Regions from separate parts of the Homo sapiens genome. Here all the other regions are linked to region 2. Evidence: promoter capture Hi-C in 16 types of primary human blood cells and fetal thymus (Javierre and others, 2016). All regions are on one chromosome and are shown on one strand. Each heading gives the region's core, a stretch centred on a gene start or on the middle of the fragment in contact. The rest is flanking DNA. Distances are from core to core; before and after follow the strand shown. Region 1 holds the start of KRT13 (keratin 13). Region 2 holds the start of KRTAP2-4 (keratin associated protein 2-4). Region 3 overlaps KRT35 (keratin 35). Region 4 has its middle 12 kb from the start of KRT32. Region 5 has its middle 5.6 kb from the start of KRT37. Region 6 has its middle 8.5 kb from the start of LINC00974. Region 7 has its middle 7.5 kb from the start of LINC00974.

Region 1 (2,700 bases), core at 119-2,618, 440 kb before region 2:
AATGGGGCTGACTTAAACCCTCTCCTGTTGTGAGACTTGGTGACAGTGTGTTAAGCCCAGCCTTGCTTGCAGGGGTACTCATAATGCAGTTTTGCTGCTCCTTCCCTTGAAACGTTCTTGGGAGGAGACCGCAGTCATTGGGTTTCTTTTTGTTGTTGTTGTTGTTTTTGCCAAAAAACAAAGCAGAAAGCTTAAGACGAGGTAGCAGTGCCTCAGCCCCAGCGCTCTCTCCTTCTTCCATTAGGACCAGGGTGGAAATAGGAAAAAAGATGGGTCCCTGGTTGGATCTCTGCCTAGCTTCCTCCCAGAGGGCTCTGGGATTCACTGCGGGTTGGAGGAAGGCAGTCCTGTGTCAAGGCATTACAAGTCCCCGCTAAGCGGGCAGAGGCTGTGCCCTGACCCCGCAAAGGAAGGAATGTCACGGGCCACTCCGTGTTTGTGTTACTGGGGCTTTGGAGGATCTGCAGCATTGTTACTCTAAGAGGCGTTGGCCTGAACCTGCTTGTCAGCTCTGGGAGGTTTGGGGCATTGTTACCCCAGGCATGGCAGGTTCCATTAATCACCTTCTTGTCAGTTTTGATCCTCTACCGAGAGAGCAAGAGCTCCTGCTTTGGGCTGAATCACCCCTTTTCAGAGAGAGAGAGAGAGAGAGAGAGAGCTGAGCCATCAGCTTGGGCAGGAGGGCCGGGCAGGGTCAGGGGTTAGCCTGAATCCCTGGCCTCGCAAGGCTGTTAGAACACTGGCAACGTGCCCTGGCTCTGTCCCTGCTGATACCCCTGCGGGAAGCACAGGCCCGCTTCTCTACCCCAGAAAACAAAGGCCCAGAAAGCCCTGACTCAGATTTCTCCTTTCTGATCTTGCTGAATCAGTGAAGGGGGTTCCAGGAGAACCTCATGCCTGTGCCACCCCACCCAGCCCCTGGCCTGGTATCATCCAGACCTTTGTGGCTGCTGTGGGCCAGAAAGCTGCTCCCAAGATGCCATCCACAGCAACCCTGGCCCCTTGGTGAGTGGGGCCTGGGAGTCTGCATTCAGGGTCCTCCATTGTCAGCCCTGGAATGGAGGACCTTCTATCCTGGCCTCACAGATGCCATCTGAGGTCCTTTTCTCCCAGCCTGAATGGGGAAGCTCCCTCTGGCAGGGTTCTTACATAGTCCCTGAGTTTCTCAGCCACATCTCAGGATCCTAAGCTGAGACCCTGGCCCTGGGTCCTGTGTCACATCCTCTTATGTGGCCTCTTGGCTGGGACAGACCTCATATGACTGGCGTACTAGAAAGGACCCTGCTCACATTATTACAGGGCCGTCTTCCTGGATGTGACTGTGCCCTAAAGCAGTCAGCGTAATGGAGTGATTCAACCCGAGGGCCAGACTGACCCAGGCATCTCAACCTCAACACTATTGATATTTTGGGTCTGATAATTCTTTGCTGTGGGGACAGTCCTGCACCTTATAGGATGTTTAGCAGCATACCTGGTGTTTAGCTATCAGTAGTGCCCCCAAGTTGTGACAACCAAAATGTTCCTAGACATTGTCAAACGTCCCCTGGAGAGCAAAGCAGCCTCTAGCTGAGGACCTCTGAACTTGTCTATGGGGACAGAAGTTGGAAGAGTGGTTACACCAGGGGTGTGGAGTCAGGTAATTGACTGGGAAAAGGTACAAGGACCTTTATGGAATGCTGGGAATGTCCTGGGTGGTGTTTACACAGGTCGTGCATACCCATGCGTGACATCAAGCTGGACACGTGATCTATACATTTTACTGTATGAAAAATGTACCTAAAAAATGCACCTTAGCGTCAGACAGAACCAGACTTGGATTTCAGTCCTGATTCTGCCCTTAAGGTTCATTTTCCTCATGTGTAAATGGGGGCAATAGTAGGACCCTCCTCCTGTGGCTGCTGTGAAGGTTAAATGAGATGATGAGTGTAAAGTAACTTCACCCAGTTCCTGCCTATGGTGAGGGCTCGGAGAATATTCGCTATGATAATGGACAGGGCCACTTCCTCTTTCCATGCCTGAGTTTCCACAGCTGTGTCTGATGGTCCCTAAGATCCCTTAAGGTCTCTGTCACTGTGACTTTTTCTGATGGCCTCGGAGCTATTTCTTTCTCAGTCTAAATACTTTCAAGGCAGGTGATTCTATCGAACCAAGCAAAGTTTGTCATCAGAGTTGCTGGGGCCCCTGGAGTAGATGAAGTGCTAAGAAGGATCCAGGACATCCCAGTCAGAAGTTTTAGGTATAGAAAAAAGGAAGGTCGAGGGCTACGGTGACCTTGCAAAGCACAGAGCCACTCTGCACCCACCACTTTCCTCGCAGAAGCTCCTGGCAGGCCTCCGCATCTCAGGTCCCGTTCTAATACTGGGTGGGGCTCAGAGCCTGCACAGTGAACTCCTTAAGTGGAGGTGAAACAGAATTCACTTGTCAAAAGGGCAGTCTCAGGCAGAATGCTGTCCCCTCTGAATCATTCTTTTTGTTAAGGATTAAAAAAAAAGCCACCCCCAAAAGGCACAACCCACCCTGGAGAGATCAGAGATAACTAAGCTTGTGGGAAACAGAAGTGTAGTTGGCACCAAGTCAGAGGGTGGGGAAGGGAGGAGAGAAGATAACCAGCCCCTATGGAGGTGTATAAAAGGTGTCCACTCTGGGGAAGAGCCACAGTCCTCGGCCCAGGCCAAGCAAGCTTCTATCTGCACCTGCTCT
Region 2 (2,700 bases), core at 92-2,591:
CTTTTTACAAATAATAGCAGTTCTCCTGTCCAGATACCACCACTGGACCACCCTTGTATGTAAGTTCCACTAATAAACCCTGCATCATGTTAGCTTTCTCCAGGTCCCTTCTCTAGCTCTCAGACACATTGTCATACTTAGTGGAGTCAATGGGGGTCCAGGATGACAATGTGTCATCTGGGCAAAACATTTCCCTAATTCTCTTCCAGTACCACTTCTAACCTTGCTGCTGAAAGGAAAGTTCATTACTTATTTTTTTAAATCTGTGTTTAATATGTATAAATGTAAGAGGTTCAAATGCAGCATTGTTACATGGATATATTGCATAGTGGCATGAAGTCTGGGCTTCTACTTTAATATATGTTTTCTTTCCTGTCTAAAGACCATGGTTTACTGAATCCAATGAGCATAAAACTCATAGTAGAGGCTACTTACTGCAGACTGAGGAGACCTGGATCTCAGACCTCATATGGTGACCTCATTGTGTGACCTTGGTACACTCTCAGGACCTCAGCTGTAGAGTGAGGGCATAGGCCTACATATTCTCCGCAATCCCTTCCCGGACTCTACAGATGCAACGACTAATTCCAAACAAATTACAAATATAATAATTGCAATGGATCCTTGAAGAGGGTTTTACAATCAAGGTAGAAGTTGAGTTTGGATTGGAAGGATGAGGAGGGCATTCCAGGTGAATGATGACACATCAAAACCAAGGCAGGAAAGCCCAGGTCCTAGTCAGGGGAGAGTGACCACACCAGTGGCCAGGGATCTGCATTTCGTGTGGTCCCTGCTCATATGAAAAACCACAAGCCTATCTTTAAGTGAGTCATGGAAGGAGCTATCTGTGAAGCAGATGACTACTGGTCTGCACTAGGATGATGCAATTAACCTGCTACCATCATGCCCATGTGCATTAATAAGGCAAGTCACTGCTTGGGTGCCGGTGATGGGAGCCTTTGAAGACAAGGAAGAACATGCTAATTTTAGCGCCAAAGGGCAGAGCGATTAGACACTAATTTAGAAAACACATTCTTTTCTCTCTTATGGGTTAGGAATATTTCAAAGGAAAATTAATCAGAAGTGAATCCAATGTCTAAATTTAGTGAGGATAAACAATACAAGAAAATGAGCGAATATTTGTGGTGTATGTACATGAATATGTATGAGGTGAAGAGTGACCAAAATACCATTAGTCAATGCTAAATCTTCACTTAATTGGCCAGAAGATGCACAAGAAAATGATCATATGTTGAAGGGTCATCAGCTCCCAGCCAGGGTATATAAAGGGCCCAGAGGGGGAGGAGGACATTCACACCTGAGAACATCCAGCTCCTCTCAATAGCCCAACCCACACCAGCCTCAGACACCACCATGACCGGCTCCTGCTGCGGCTCCACCTTGTCCTCCCTGAGCTACGGGGGAGGCTGCTGCCAGCCCTGCTGCTGCCGCGACCCCTGCTGCTGCCGCCCCGTGACCTGCCAGACCACCGTGTGCCGCCCCGTGACCTGCGTGCCCCGCTGCACGCGCCCCATCTGCGAGCCCTGCCGCCGCCCGGTGTGCTGCGACCCCTGCTCCCTGCAGGAAGGCTGCTGCCGCCCCATCACCTGCTGCCCCTCGTCGTGCACGGCTGTGGTGTGCAGGCCCTGCTGCTGGGCCACCACCTGCTGCCAGCCTGTGTCTGTGCAGTCCCCCTGCTGCCGGCCCCCCTGCGGCCAGCCGACCCCTTGCAGCACCACCTGCAGGACCTCCTCCTGCTGAGACCCCAATGCCCCCACAGAGCAATACACTGAAGCCTAAACATCTATCTGGTGTTTTTAAAAAGTTAAAAGAAAAATAGATTTTTTTTCACAAGGTGACAATAGTGATTTTTACCATCTGGATACAGCCTGGTGTAAGCAGACGTCCATTACCACCCTCACCCACATTTTCAGGTGTCTACATCAGCCTTAGTCATTATGGATAGTAAATCGACCTTTAAGAATTCCTGGGGTGGACTTTGCAAACACATTCTACAACCTGATGGTTTTTACTGCTCAAACTGTCACCATCATCTTTTGCAATGTGTTGCTCACTGTTGTCAATAAACTAATTTTTCCTGGCATAGCAGACTGCCCTGCTCCCTGATTTGTTCGTTAGTGCATGTTTATTAGCGTACACAGATAAGCAAGATTTTGGAACCTGCACAAGGGAAACAAAGCTCAACCTAAGCAAAACCTTATCCATAGAAATCTCATCTATTCAGTCATTCAGGAATTGTTTATCAAGGGACCTCCAGTTGACAGGTGCTGCCTGATTAGTGATGAACAAGCTACATGCCTTGTATCCAAGAAGCTTATGGTCTAATGGAATAGACAAAAGGAAAGACAATGTTCATGAAGAGGGGTAGAAGTGGGAATAGCATATGCCAAGCCCAGAATGACCACTGGTAGTAAACTGACCAGCACAGCGCATCTCATCTTCTTACCACAGTTCCTAGAGTAGCATTTTTCAAAGTGTGGCCCATGCGTCATACACAATAGAATCTCTTGCAATTGCCTATTAAAATGCACATTCTTAGGCCCCAAACCAAACCTAATGAATCAAAATCTCTGGGAGTGGGGCCCAAGGCTGTTTATTTTCTATCACTTCCATGTAATTCATTAGAATTTCAGGACCATTATTTCAGAGGAAGACCAGGATTTGAGCTCCTTGAGGGCT
Region 3 (2,700 bases), core at 14-2,513, 410 kb before region 2:
TTGGACACCCAGGTAGGTACCTGGAAACAGTCAGTGCAACAGGGGTATGTGGTGGCTCACATGGAAGTGACCCTGGGGCTCTGAATCAAGAAATCTAACTTTGAGTCCCATCTCTGTTTTGACCTTGCTGACAAGGTCAAAACAGACCCACTTCAATTGACCTTGCTGACAAGGTCAAAACAGACCCACTTGGGCAGGTTGCTGTCCTCTGAGCAACAATGCCCTCCAGTATAAAATAAATGAGTGGGACTGGGGAATCGGGAATGTCTTTCTTGGCTCATGATTCTAACCGGCCTCTGTAGCTCTCTGAAGCCAAGTCCCTGGTGTGGCTGACCAGGTTCTGTGTGTGTATGTTTCAGAGTGAGGAGCTGAACCAGCAGGTGGTGTCCAGCTCAGAGCAGTTGCAGTCCTGCCAGGCAGAGATCATCGAGCTGAGACGCACGGTCAACGCCCTGGAGATTGAGCTGCAGGCTCAGCACAGCATGGTGAGCCCCAAGGCAGGGTGGAGCTGCCTCTGGACCAAGCCGAGGAGCACACAAGCTCCCCAGCTTCCATGCTTTGACCACACAGGCGGACTCCAGGGGTCCATGTTCTTGAGCACCAGGGGTTCTCTATGCAGAAAAGAGGGAATGAGGGACCAGCTCCAGTCACAAATCCCCCAGTGGTAAAGGACAAGAGACCTGTAGCAACTGACATGTCCAGGCAGTAGGTCCTATATTTGTGCAAGCAGATACATCTTCTGAGTAACTATCAGTTACTCAGAGATGACACTAACAGGGAGATACTTTCTAGATCAAAGAAGCCACAGGGGCTAATTAGCTCATCTCAAGTGAGATGTCTGATTGTGGTTCATCCTAGCTCAAACTCTGATTCTCCGAGCTTCTGTTCTTGGATTCTGAGGCCTCACTGAGACCCAGATTCCTTCCTTGCTCCTTCTCTGACCTCTAGCCTTTTTCCTCCCTACACAACTCTTGACCTCACAGAGAGATGCTTTGGAATCCACCCTGGCAGAGACGGAGGCCCGCTATAGCTCCAAGGAAGATTCCTTCCTTGCTCCTTCTCTGACCTCTAGCCTTTTTCCTCCCTACACAACTCTTGCCCTCACAGAGAGATGCTTTGGAATCCACCCTGGCAGAGACGGAGGCCCGCTATAGCTCCCAGCTGGCCCAGATGCAGTGCATGATCACCAACGTGGAGGCCCAGCTGGCCGAGATCCGGGCTGACCTGGAGCGGCAGAACCAGGAGTACCAGGTGCTGCTGGACGTCCGGGCCCGGCTGGAGTGTGAGATCAACACGTACCGGGGCCTGCTGGAGAGTGAGGACAGCAAGTGAGTATCACTGCATGTGCTCTTGTCTTCTCACTGCAATCTACCAAGTTCTGGGAAGACAGCATGGTGCCTAGAAAGAGCCTGGCATTCGGAGTCTGGAGTTCTGTTCTCTTAGTTCTGGTCTTCCTGAAAACTCATCACGTGACTCCAGCAAGCCCCCTTTCCTCTCAGGGCCTGTTTCCCTTTTGGTAAAACAAGGGGGCAGGATCAAGGTGGTTTTTAGGGTGCTTCCCAGTTTGCATAGTCTAGGATCTACTTTGAGTTACTGCAAACAGCAACTGGAAAATCACAGTAATTTGTTTTCTTTTTTCTAGGCTCCCCTGTAACCCATGTGCACCTGACTACTCACCCTCCAAGTCATGCCTTCCCTGTCTTCCTGCGGCCTCCTGCGGTCCTAGTGCAGCCCGCACAAACTGCAGCCCCCGCCCCATTTGTGTGCCCTGCCCAGGGGGTCGGTTCTGAGAGCGGGTGACCCAGATGGCCATGGCTATTGTCTCCAGGGCTTGAACTTGGCCTCTACCCAAACTTAACCCTTGTAGCCCAATCCCCTCTCTTCGCGCAGAGCCCAGGCCCAGGGTCTGGCTGAAAAGGCTTTCTGCAAATACATGCCCTAAAGTTTCTCAGAGCCTGTCACAAAGGCCGGCTGCCCCCAAAGGTCTCAACTCCTCATCATTTCAATGGGTGCCAGGGTCTCTGTTCTCAGGCTGCCTCCTGGGTCAGGTTTTCCTTCTAGGTGCTGTTCCGGTGGATTCTGAAATGCAGTAGAGGGCTTTTGTTGGCAGAACAATAAAGTGCATTTGCTCAGGCCCCTGATGCCTAACTTGCACCATTCTGGTGTTGTTGGCTTGTGTCTCTGCTGTGTCCAGGGGGTGACTGTTGGGCAGCCGAATGGGAGATGTGTGACCAAGTATGACCCTTTGGATGACAGGGTCACTATGCCCCTGTTTGGGGTGGGTAGAGGCCTACAGTGAGAGCTTTTGCTTGGCTTCCCTGATGAAGACCTTTCTCCAAGATTCCAGTGTGGTGCCAGGTGTTTTCAGACTGCTGTGGAATCCCTCTTAGTATACGTGGTCACCTGGGGATCCCAGAGTGGGAGGGACAAAACTGAGATGGAAACTGAGATCAGCATAACAGGGAGGGTTTTAGGCCACTTTATCAGCCTCTTGTCTGTGGTCCTTGTAAGACCGGCGATAGGGTGTCTCCCTCCCAGGGTACTTTTAGGGGTGCATTTACATAAGCCCCCTACCATTGCAGCCCTTTCATGCAGCCCTCCAAGTTCAGCAACCCCCTTAACAATCCACAGCCCATCATAAGCAGGAGATGGAGAGTGTGCTCGCCTTCAGGGCTTCTATCCCGAATGCTAAGGCTCTTG
Region 4 (2,700 bases), core at 24-2,523, 390 kb before region 2:
CACTGGGCTCAGTAAGAGCAAAGACCTTGAGCTGCAGCCCAGAGCCTCAGCAGGAATGATTGCACAGGAGTTGTGGGCCAGAAGTCCTGGACCCTGGACCCCCTGGGGACTTCCAGAGTCTCCGTTTCCCCAGTGCATATTGTTTCAGTCCAACTCGGTCCCCATTCCCACACCTGTGTGTCTCTCCCACTTGCCAAGACCTGTCTGACTCCCAAGATGACTGTTAAAGCTTTTTATATGAAACCAAGCCCCACAGCCCAGGGCCAGGAGTACCCTCCTCTGCTAGAAGTGAGGCCCATCATCTTCTGTGTCTGGATGGTACTTCAAGCCAGAGGTGTCACGAGCTACCCTCCTGCCTAGCCTGTCTCTTATTTGATGGATGAAGAAGCCGTGGGCATAGACTTTGGGAGATATTTATCCCCCACCAGCACCGGAATCTCCTGGGAACTGGACTCAGTGTACCACTCATGGAGATTCTCAGAGGAACTCTCTCCTCATATCAAAGCATTTGCATCTAATTAACTCTTTATAGGGGAAGAGTTTATAGGGAAATGTAGGCAGGACCCTGGTCAAGTCATAAAACCTCTGTCATATTTGATGTTTTGGAGAAACCCTCACAGGTATCAGGGATCCTCTCTGAGCGGGATTGGAAAAGAAAAGGGTGTGCTTTTTAAAGACACCACTTTCCCCAAGGCTATTCAAGAGTTTGGGCCTCACCCCTGCTGCTCACTGCCCTAGTGCAAAGCACCCTCTTCTGGGGGTGAGAGTGAGGGCCCATGGGCAGAACTGCCATTCAAGGAAGACTGGCCAGAGGGCGACAGCTTCCCGAAAGATCCAGGAGTTGGGTTTGGCATCTGGGAGTTGGGGCTGTGTGTGGACTCTGAATTGCACTGACTGAATCTTTCTTCACCACTATATTAGGAAACCTTTTAGAGAGTGATCAAAAAAAGAATATGCCTCTTCCAGGGTATAACCAGGAAAATCATTAATAATAAAACAATATTCTTTTTGTATTTCATAATTTTTTTTTCTTTTGGAGAGAGAGTCTCGCCCCGTAGCCCAGGCTGGAGTGCAGTGGCATGATCTTGGCTCACTGCAACCTCTGCCTCCTGGGTTCAAGTGATTCTTGTGCCTCAGCCTCCTGAGTAGCTAGGACCACAGGCACATGCCACCATGCCTGGCTAATTTTTGTATTTTTAGTAGAAATGGGGTTTCACCATGTTGGCCAGGCTGGTCTCGAACTCTTGACCTCAGGTGATTCACCCACCTTGGCCTTCCAAACTGCTGGGATTACAGGCGTGAGCCACTGCACCCGGCCTGTATTTCATAAAATGTAACACTTGAATGCAATGATATCAATTCGGCTAAACAGAAAGTTCCTAAGATCATTTGATGTCTATCTTTTTGCCCAACTGATCAAGACAAATTTGTATTTAAATAGCAGTGTCCCTTAATCATAATATGTAAACAAAGTCACCAATGAGCATCTAGGATTAATGGAGAAGATCAGTGCCTTTGGCTTCAGAAAAACTGGGCTAGACCCCCAGTTCTGCTGCTAATGTGCTGTGTGATTTTGGCAGAACTCTTAATCTCTATGCATCTCAGTCTTCTCCCCTTTAGAAATGGGAGTAATTCTACCTTTTTCACAGAGTTGTTGGGATATAGTACATATAAAAATGCCTGTCATGATGCCTGGCATATTGTAGGTGCCTGATGAATGTTGAGTAAAGAAAACATGCTTTGGCAACAAATTTCTCTTCTCTTCTGACTTTCCCCAATTACAATGGCAGCTGAGTCATATTTTGGAGCCATTCTGAAGCCCAAGTTTCAGAAACAACAACAGCAGCAGCAGCAGCAGCAACAACAACATATGGGTAGCTTTGCTTTGCTCTAAGAGCATTGGATGAACTTCCAGTCTTGGTGTAAATGCCCTGGTAGAGTGAAGGCCCTGGTGTCTGAGGCTCAGCGTCCAGTCCTGGAGTTCACCATCCATTCCCAGGTGCCCTCCCTCTGCCCAGCCCTCTGGCTCCAGAGCGGACTGAAGGTCTCCCACATGCTTAAGGGGTCCAATTTTTAAGCCTCATTCACTGTGCTGTGTGAAGCAGGGATGGCAACTACAGCTCACAGGTCAAACCCCACTGCTACTTGTTTTGGTAAATCAAGTTTTATTGGAGCATAGCCACACCCATTCATTTCCCTGTTGTCTATGTCTGCTTTGTGCTACAATGGCAGAGCTAAGTAGTTGCAGTACAAAGAGAGTATACGACTTGCAAAGCCTAAAATATTTAGCATCTGTCTTTTTAACAGAAAAAGCTTGTCCATCTTGGTGCAGAGGAAACAGAATGTGCTAGGGGCCCTGGGACCAGTCCTGGCTCTGTATCTGACTTGCTTGGCATCCCTGGGGAGCTCACTGTCCTTCTCTGGTCTCTGAAGCACGAAAGGTTGAATTAGTACTTGGAAGTTTTCTTTAGTTCTAATAACTTAGCAGTCTTTGCTCTATTGCTCTTTAGGGATTCCTGAGGCTCTTATCAGAGAATTTTACTTTTTTGGGTATTGAAGGTCAGTGGAGAGGACGATTCATCTTAGAGCCAATGCCATTCCTAGAGAGAGGCCAGATAGTCACTCAAGGAACAAAGTCTAACTTTTCAATGGGGCATCTCTAAAGAGAAAACATTTAACATTTCTTTTCACAACAGAAGG
Region 5 (2,700 bases), core at 157-2,656, 360 kb before region 2:
AATGGTTCCAGCTCCTCTATATCCTCACCAATACTAGTTGTCTTTTTTTTTTTTTGATAGTAGCCATCCTGAGTGGTGTGAAGTGATGTCTCATGGCTTTGATCTGCATTTCCCTTATGGCTAGTGACTTTGAGCATTTTTTCATATACCTGATGGCCGTTTGTACGTCTACTTTAGAGAAATGTCTATAGAAATCCTTAGCCCATTTTTAAATTAAAAAAAATTATTTTTTACAGTTGAGTTGTAGGACTTCCTTATATATTTTGGAGGCTAACCCTTTATCAGATATATGATTTACAATTCTTTCTCCCATTCAGTAGGTTGTATTTTCACTCTGTTGTTTCTTTTGCTGTGCAAAAGCTTTTTAGTAAGACTAAACTTCTGATCTTTGCTAACTTAAATAAGTAAAAAATAAGTAATTTAATAAGCATTTTTGAATTATGAATGGTGTAAGCATGTAAACACACCAGTAACAGTAAAATCCATTAAAAAACACAACACTTATTTAGTGCTTACCATGTACTCTGTGCTAGACACTATTTTACGTGATTTACAGGTATGGATTTTTTTAAAACTTAAATCCATTAGCTAGGTGCTATTGTCACTCCATTGTGCATAAGCAGAATTTGAGGCACAGAGAGGTCAAGTCACCAGCCCAAGTTCACACAGCTAATAAATGATAGAACCAGAATCTGAACCCAGGCAGGCTGGATCCAAAATTCATTGTCTTAAACCTCTACTATGCTGCATTAAAGGATTTTGTAATAGGTCTTGGTATGAGGTAAATAAGGGGAAATTTCCTGCCTTAGCATGTAGATAAAGAAACTCTAGGATCAGGGAACAAAGGGGAGGGGAAATGAAGATAACTTTTTCAGTATTTAGTCTCTGATGACCTTAAGACCTGGGATAAGAATAAAGCAAACTAGGCAGGGCGCTGTGGCTCACTCCTGTAATCCCAGCACTTTGGGAGGCCGAGGTGGGTGGATCACCTGAGGTCAGGAGTCGGAGACCAGCCTGGCTAACATGGTGAAACTCCATCTCTGCTAAAAATACAAAAAATTAGCCGGACGTGGTGGCGTACGCCTGTAATCCCAGCTATTCAGGAGGCGGAGGCAGGAGAATCTCTTGAATCCAGGAGACGGAGGTTGCAGTGAGCCAAGATCAGACCACTGCTCTCCAGCTTGGGCAACAAGAGCAAAACTCCATCTAAAAAGAAAAGAAAAACAAAAAAAGAATAAAGCAGAATAATAATTTAAAAATACTTAAAATCAAACCAAAGTTTCCCAAGTAACTAGATTTTAAAATCCTATTTAATAGAAAAGAAAACGGTGACTTTTTTTTTTTTTTCAAAGCCTTCTGAGGTGGACTTTTGAAATGATAAAGGTGTTTTGGGTTATCCTTCCTCAGACTCTGTTTTCACCCAGCATGTCTGAGAGCCTTGCAGGCACAGTGGTATCAGGACACACTGCTGGTCGTGGTTTGCAGATGTTTTCCTGGCGTAATTCACATCAGGATGCAGTGTGTGGGCAGCTCCTGTTTCCTTAGGTGTCTTCAGAATTTTTCCTCTGCAGCTGGAGCAGGTGGTTGCAGATTAGACTCACACCCTGTGGACCGCCCAGTGCCTCTGCTTCTGTCTCACTCAGAGATGCGTCAGAACGGTCAGACTCAGAGATGCGTCTGCACCGTGGCACCAAGTGATGCTGTTCTGAACCCAGTGTTTCCCCTCTGCCTGAAGAGAGATTACAGCTCAAAATCTTTTAATCCTCAAGAGAGAAGAGGTGGCCCCTGTGAAGGAAGGAGGGCTGCAGGACTACCTCTGTCTTCTCTCTTCATCTCTGATACCTCCCTTCATGCAACTTGGAATATATGTTTATTTTCAGGGGCCAGAAACTCTTTTTAAAGAGGAGCAAGAGGGCCGGGCACGGTGGCTCATGCCTGTAATCCCAGCACTTTGGGAGGCTGAGGTGGGTGGATCACGAGGTCAGGAGTTCAAGACCAGTCTGGCCAACATGGTGAAACCCCATCTCTACTAAAAATACAAAAATTAGCTGGGTGTGGTGGCGGGTGCCTGTAATCCCAGCTACTAAGGAGGCTGAGGCAGGAGAATCGTTTGAACCCGGGAGGTGGAGGTCGTAGTGAGCCGAGATCATGCCATTGCATTGCATTGCACTGCAGCCTGGGTAATAGGGCGAGACTCTGTCTCAAAAAAAAAAAAAAAAGGGAGGAAGAGGAGGCTCATCTGATCATCTGCAATGTCAAGGATGGGCTCCTTCCCACCTACACAGCTGAGTACATCCCAGACACCTGCCTCATGCCTTCCACCTACTGCCTGTTCCTTTGAGACCAAAGAAAATCAGAAGAGCCCTCTGCTGTACGAAGGACTAGGCAGTGTCTATGTCATTATGCAAAATGGACCATGCAGAGCCCAAGCCAGAGACACATATCAAGCTTTGGAGAGGTGTGTCAGGACGCAAAGGATGCAAAGCTTCAGCTGTGATGCTTAAGAATTAACAAGTGTCATATGTTCTGAGACAGAAGGAACCATGATTTTAGCCAATGGGATAAAATCCTGCCAGAGGATAGGGTCAAGAGAGGGTTCCTATTTAGCAAATCAAAGGGAAGAATTTTAATGCTTCAATTCTCTGGATTATAGTGATGCTATGTGTTGAGGCGGAAGATAGGAACAAAGGGGTCTTTGAA
Region 6 (2,700 bases), core at 165-2,664, 480 kb before region 2:
GGAGGGAAGGGAGCCAGTGACACAGGGATCATCCTTCCAGGTACAGAGCAGGACAGAGGAAGGTGGAGAGTAGATCTAAGGATCCAGGGAGAATTATCAGCCCAACCAGTGGTTGGGCAAGGGGGCACAAATATGAGCCAGACCCCAGCCTCAAGGAGCTCACTGGCTGGTAGAGGGGATAAGAGCCAATGAATTCTCACCCATATAGGAAGAGGACAGTGCCTGGGAGAGGGTCAGGTAAAGCACCAGAGGGGCTCAGAGGAGGAAGAGCGAGTGCCAGGGATCACAAAGGCCTGAAGGAAGAGGTGATGTATGAGTTCCACGTTGCTGCTGTAACAAGTGGTGGCAAACTCAGTGGCTTAAAACAACACAAACTTACTATCTTCTAGGCCTGGAAGTCAGAAATCTGAAATGGGCCTTATGGGCTAAAATCAAGGTGTCATCAGAAATGCTTTTTTTCTAGGGGCTCTACGGGAGAGTCTGTCTCCTGGCCTCTTCCAGCCTCCAGGGGCTGCCTGCCTTCCTTGGCTTGTGGGATCTTCCTCCTTCAAAGTGCCTCACTTTGACCTCTGCTTCCATGGTCCCAGCTCCTCTCTGTGACCTTGACCATCTCGCCTCTCTCTTACAAGGACCCTTGTGATTACTTTGGACTCAATCGGATAATCCAGGATAACCCAACCCCCATTCCAAGATCCTTAATGTAATCACATCTGCAAAGTCTCTTTCTGCCATGGAAGGTACATGCTCACAGGTTCCGATTGGCGTATCTTTGGAGGGCCATTATTCTGTCTACTCCAGGCAATGGTGAAGAGGCACAGTTTCAACCTGTGACGGCTGAGGGGAAGGACCCTGCAGGTGGATAGGATAGCCTGAGTAGAAGCAGGCATTTGAGAACCTAAGCACTATTGGCCAGCACCTGTGAGTAATTGCAGGAAGACTGTGATTTTGGGGGACAGGGCTGGAAAGCCAGCCTGGACATGGCCAGTGCCTTGCTCCATTTCCAAATAAATGCAGTTGGCCTCTGAGGCTTAGTGGCAACCGTCAGTGCCTGTGGCATGGCGGGGCTGGCGGGGGGCCTCCTGGATGTGAGGTGAGCCTTGCTGTTCAGTGTCCATCCCTCCCCGACCCACACTTCTCCAGGCCCAGCACGGCTTTATTCAGGACCTGCATGGTGAGTCGGACCCTCGCAGTTGTCCCCTCCGTGAGGCCCTCCATTGGCCCGTCTCTTATCCACCCACACCCCCACTGCCAACAGGCCCGCAGGCAGCACTTGTCCCCTCCCCTGCCTTCCCCAGCCTCCAGGCCTCCAACTCTCCCAGTGTTACGCCTCCAACACACTGAACTGCTCCCTCCCTGAACTCCCCGCATTGTCTCACCTGGCCAGGCCATTTCCCACAGCTTTCCCTGTGCCAGAAACACCCACCACCCGAGCCCTTTTCTTCCCACTCCTCATTCTTCAAATCTCAGCTTTTTGGAAGAACACTTTCCCCTTCCCTCCACCCCACCGCACAGGGAGCAGTGAGCGACTCCCACAAAAATCTTTTTTTTTTTTTTTGAGACAAGGTCTCACTCTGTCACCCAGGCTGGAGTGCAGTGGTGTGATCATGGCTCACTGCAGCCTCAACCTCCTGGGCTCAGGTAATCCTTCCACCTCAGCCTCCCGAGTAGCTGGAACTACAGGCACATACCACCATGCCCTGATCATTTTTTGTAGAGATGTTACCTAGGCTGATCTTGAACTCTTGGACTCAAGCAGTCTACCTGCCTCGACCTCCCAAAGTGCTGAGATTATAGGTGTGAGCCACTGTGCCTATCCTCTCACAAAATCTTTTATAAAAACCCATACCTGGCCAGGTATGGTGGCTCATACCTGTAACCTCAGCACTTTGGGAGGCCGAGGCAGGCAGATTGCTTAAGCCCAGGAGTTCAAGACCAGCCTGGGCAACATAGCAAGAACAGGTCTCTTAAAAAAAAAATTGGCCCAGGCATGGTAGTGCATGTTTGTAGCCCTAGCTACTGAGGAGGCTGAGGCAGGAGGATCACTTGAGCCCAGGAGTTTGAGGCTGCAATGAGCTAGGATTGCGCCACTGCACTCTACCCTGGGTGACAGAGCAAGACCCCATCTCAACAAACAAAAAACCCAAAAAACAGAACAGAAAGCTCCTCCCAGCCCACACCTGCTGAGTGGTTGTCCCCTGCGGTGATGACTGACACATGCCATTTAACCTTCATGTTGCTGGTAATAGCTCTTGATTTTATGGAGTGCCAGATACTGTGCTTCACACCTGATTTTTCATTTATTCCCCCACAAGCCCTCTGAGGTTGGTGTTATTAGCCTCATTTCAGAGGCGGGGACACTGAGGTTCTGACAGGTGAGGTAACGGCCGTTGCATGACATGGCTTTGAAATAAAATGGTGGCTCTGTGAATCAAACCCAGGCCACCCTGGCTCCAAGGCCTGGGCTCTAAACCACATGCCACACTGGTGTGATTATGGTCCATGTTTTATAGGGGAGGAAACTGGAGCTTAGGGAGGTGAATACCTGGGCCTGGCTAATGAGTGGCTCTCACCCCAAGGCGTGGCTCTTTTCAAAGGCCAGGCCTGTCACTGCCTTGCTACATGGTCACTGATTAATCTTGCCTGCTACGCTATACTGCTGGGCCTCTCTTTTGTAGCTATTTGTGTAGATCTTTCCCTCCC
Region 7 (2,700 bases), core at 24-2,523, 500 kb before region 2:
TTCCTCATCTACCATTTTACATATCTTTTTATTTATTTTATTTATTATTATTATTATTTTTTGAGACGGAGTCTCACTCTGTCGTCCAGGCTGAAATGCAGTGGCACGATCTCAGCTCAATCCAACCTCTACCTCCCGGGTTCAAGCGATTTTCTGCCTCAGTCTCCTGAGTAGCTGGAACTACAGGCACCTGCCACCACGCTGAGCTAATTTTTGTATTTTTAGTAAAGACGGGGGTTTCACCATGTTGGCCAGACTGGTCTTGAACTCTTGATCTCAGGTGATCCACTTGCCTCGGCCTCCCAAAGTGCTGGGATTACAGGTGTGAGCCACAAGGCCTGGCCCATTTTATGTATCTTTTCTCTACCTCAATTTGGGAAATTCTCCACCTTAAGTGTGAAGCTCCCCAAGGGAGAGGTCAGAAACTTGCTTTTCCGAGCTCACCTGCATCTAGGGCATGGGCCCCTGACAGCCCTGCCACTCAGGTGCGCCCGCACAAGACGTTTTTTTTTTTTTTTTAACCATGGCACCCCATTGGAGTGAAGGACTTTGATTTTGATTTAAAGGAGGTGCTGAGTGGAATTTTTTATGGCAGGAACAAGGTTGGGCAGAGATATGTGATTTTTTGAGGAAGCAATAGCAGCGGCTCTGGCAAAGACATGCAGTGCCCATCATCCATAGTTTGAGCTTCAATTTTGGTGGCCAGAAGTGACAGCAGTGGTGTGTTCCTAGAGCAATCCTTGAGTGTGATTTGGGGAATTTTTCTGTTTGCATACCCTCCAAGTTTGATTCTCTGCACATCCTGGAAAAGATGCCCAGTAGTTGCTCATTATTTCACAGGGAATACATTCAAAGATCCTGACTGGATGCCCAAAACTGTGGATAGCACCTAAATCTATCTACACTATGCTTTTTCCTACACATTCATACTTAAGATACAGTTTACTTTATAAATTAGGCAGACCAAGAGATTAACAACAATAACTAATAAAATAGAATCGTTATAACAATATACTGTAATAAAAATTATTTGAATGTGGTCTCTCTCTTTCAAAATATCTTATCATACTGTAGATCTTAGCAACCTCAGCGTATGGTTTTTTTCTTTCCGTAGTAAGTTTTGAACTGTCATCTTTTCTCTTAAAGAAAGCATTTTGCTGGCTGGGCGCGGTGGCTCATGCCTGTGATCCCAGCACTTTGGGAGGCCAAGGCTGGAGGATCACCTGAGGTCAGGAGTTTGAGACCAGCCTGACCAGTATGGAGAAACACTGTCTCTTCCAAAAATACAAAATTAGCCAGGCATGGTGGCGCATGCCTGTAATCTCAGGTACTTGGGAGGCTGAGGCAGGAGAATCGCTTGAACCCGGGAGGCAGAGGTTGAGGTAAACCGAGATCACGCCATTGTGCTCCAGCCTGGGAAACAAGAGCAAAACTCCTTTTAAGAAAAAAAAAAAAGCACTTTGTGGCTTCCCTTTGGCAAATCTGAATTATCAGCATCACTGCTCTTGCACTTTGGGGTCGTAATTAAGTAAAATAAGGGAACACAAGCACGGCAATACTGCAACAGTTGATCTGACAACTGAGACAGCTACTAAGCGACGACTAGTGGGTGGGTGGTGCATAGAGCATGGAGAGCTGGACAAAGGGATGATTCCTGTCCTGGGCTGGACAGAGTGGGGCAGTGTGAGATTTCATCATGCTCTTCAGGGCAGCACACTTCAAAACTGACAAATTGTTTATTTCTGGAATTTTCCATTTAATATTTTTGGATGACAGTTGACCACAGGTAACTGAAGCTGTGGAAAGCGAAACCATGGATAAGGGGAATGACCGTGTTGCTTTCTCTGCAGGTGAAAGCATATTTATTCTGGTACTCTTTGTTTATTGGGATAAAGAAAAAAGAATTTCCCACAGCAGGTGCCAGGGTCAATGGTGATCTGCTTTAGAAAAGGGACACAATCTGGATCAACGACTGCTGTTGGAACAACCATGTGATAAATTGTAAAATAATTCATGGCTATTCTCTAACATCTGTTCATGTTCTGCACAGAAAAACTAGGCAAGTTAACCCTAAATTTATCATTTTTTTTTTGAGACAGGGTCTCTCTCTGTTGCCCAGGCCGGTGGGCAGTGGTACAATCACAGTTCACTGAAGCCTTGACCTCCCAGGTTCAAGCAATCCTCCTACCTCAGGCTCCCAAGTAGCTGGGACTACAAGCGTGTGCCACCACGCCAGACTAATTTTTGAGGTTTTTTTTTTTTTTTTTTTTTTTTTTAAACTAGAGACAGGGATCTCACTCTATTGCCAGGGCTGATCTTACATTCCTGTGTTCTCTCCCCATCTTGCCCTTCCAAAGTGCAGGGATTACAGGCATGAGCCACCACTCCTGGCCCATCAAATCTTTCATGTGGCACTAATCTCTGTCATTCCCTTAGAGATGTAGTGTTGCTGGTCCTTTTTCTAAACCACGTAATCCTTACTGGTAAGGATCAGGATCCTTTTACTGACTATGTCTAGTCCACTCCAGACACTGGGAAATAACCACAGGATTGGTCTGGGATACCACTGGGCTCATGAGAAGCAAACTTGGGCTAAAACTCCATTTGTCATCTGATCTCTATATTGGTTAGATTCTCAATTGCAACTACCAGAAACTACTTTGCCTATTTTAACAAGTAAGGGATTTTCAAGAGCTCTAG

What was found. Contacts are between HindIII fragments. The CHiCAGO score rates a contact against its expected background, and 5 or more counts as called.
Region 1: a contact is called between a fragment that was not itself captured here and the fragment with the promoter of KRTAP2-4 in region 2, in 6 of 17 cell types (activated CD4 T cells, naive CD8 T cells, total CD8 T cells and 3 more). The highest score is 8.4, in activated CD4 T cells.
Region 3: a fragment that was not itself captured here is called in contact with the fragment with the promoter of KRTAP2-4 in region 2 in 4 of 17 cell types (total CD8 T cells, activated CD4 T cells, naive CD8 T cells and 1 more); the score reaches 6.5 in total CD8 T cells.
Region 4: a contact is called between a fragment that was not itself captured here and the fragment with the promoter of KRTAP2-4 in region 2, in 1 of 17 cell types (non-activated CD4 T cells). The highest score is 5.2, in non-activated CD4 T cells.
Region 5: a fragment that was not itself captured here is called in contact with the fragment with the promoter of KRTAP2-4 in region 2 in 4 of 17 cell types (naive CD8 T cells, activated CD4 T cells, non-activated CD4 T cells and 1 more); the score reaches 8.6 in naive CD8 T cells.
Region 6: a fragment that was not itself captured here is called in contact with the fragment with the promoter of KRTAP2-4 in region 2 in 5 of 17 cell types (total CD4 T cells, naive CD4 T cells, naive CD8 T cells and 2 more); the score reaches 7.0 in total CD4 T cells.
Region 7: a fragment that was not itself captured here is called in contact with the fragment with the promoter of KRTAP2-4 in region 2 in 3 of 17 cell types (non-activated CD4 T cells, total CD4 T cells and total CD8 T cells); the score reaches 7.1 in non-activated CD4 T cells.

Annotation. Positions count from the first base shown.
Region 1 is chr17:41,505,567-41,508,266 of GRCh38, reverse strand. KRT13 (keratin 13) reads left to right here and starts at 2,655. Exons shown (of 8, transcript NM_153490.3): 1 at 2,655-2,700. The HindIII fragment of the contact is 2,351 bases long and covers 193-2,543 here.
Region 2 is chr17:41,064,520-41,067,219 of GRCh38, reverse strand. KRTAP2-4 (keratin associated protein 2-4) reads left to right here and starts at 1,341. Exons shown (of 1, transcript NM_033184.4): 1 at 1,341-2,104. The coding sequence starts at 1,375. The coding sequence ends at 1,761. RefSeq lists enhancers at 1,071-1,607, 1,608-2,145. The HindIII fragment of the contact is 6,863 bases long and covers 1-2,336 here.
Region 3 is chr17:41,476,146-41,478,845 of GRCh38, reverse strand. It overlaps KRT35 (keratin 35), which reads left to right. Exons shown (of 7, transcript NM_002280.6): 4 at 1-12; 5 at 360-485; 6 at 1,108-1,328; 7 at 1,643-2,136. The coding sequence ends at 1,790. Among named protein-coding and RNA genes, the nearest start is that of KRT35, 3.7 kb to the left of the region's middle. The HindIII fragment of the contact is 6,798 bases long and covers 1-2,700 here.
Region 4 is chr17:41,454,511-41,457,210 of GRCh38, reverse strand. No RefSeq gene overlaps it. Among named protein-coding and RNA genes, the nearest start is that of KRT32, 12 kb to the left of the region's middle. The HindIII fragment of the contact is 2,084 bases long and covers 232-2,315 here.
Region 5 is chr17:41,428,826-41,431,525 of GRCh38, reverse strand. No RefSeq gene overlaps it. Among named protein-coding and RNA genes, the nearest start is that of KRT37, 5.6 kb to the right of the region's middle. The HindIII fragment of the contact is 2,088 bases long and covers 363-2,450 here.
Region 6 is chr17:41,544,630-41,547,329 of GRCh38, reverse strand. No RefSeq gene overlaps it. Among named protein-coding and RNA genes, the nearest start is that of LINC00974, 8.5 kb to the left of the region's middle. The HindIII fragment of the contact is 7,630 bases long and covers 1-2,700 here.
Region 7 is chr17:41,560,689-41,563,388 of GRCh38, reverse strand. No RefSeq gene overlaps it. Among named protein-coding and RNA genes, the nearest start is that of LINC00974, 7.5 kb to the right of the region's middle. The HindIII fragment of the contact is 7,476 bases long and covers 1-2,700 here.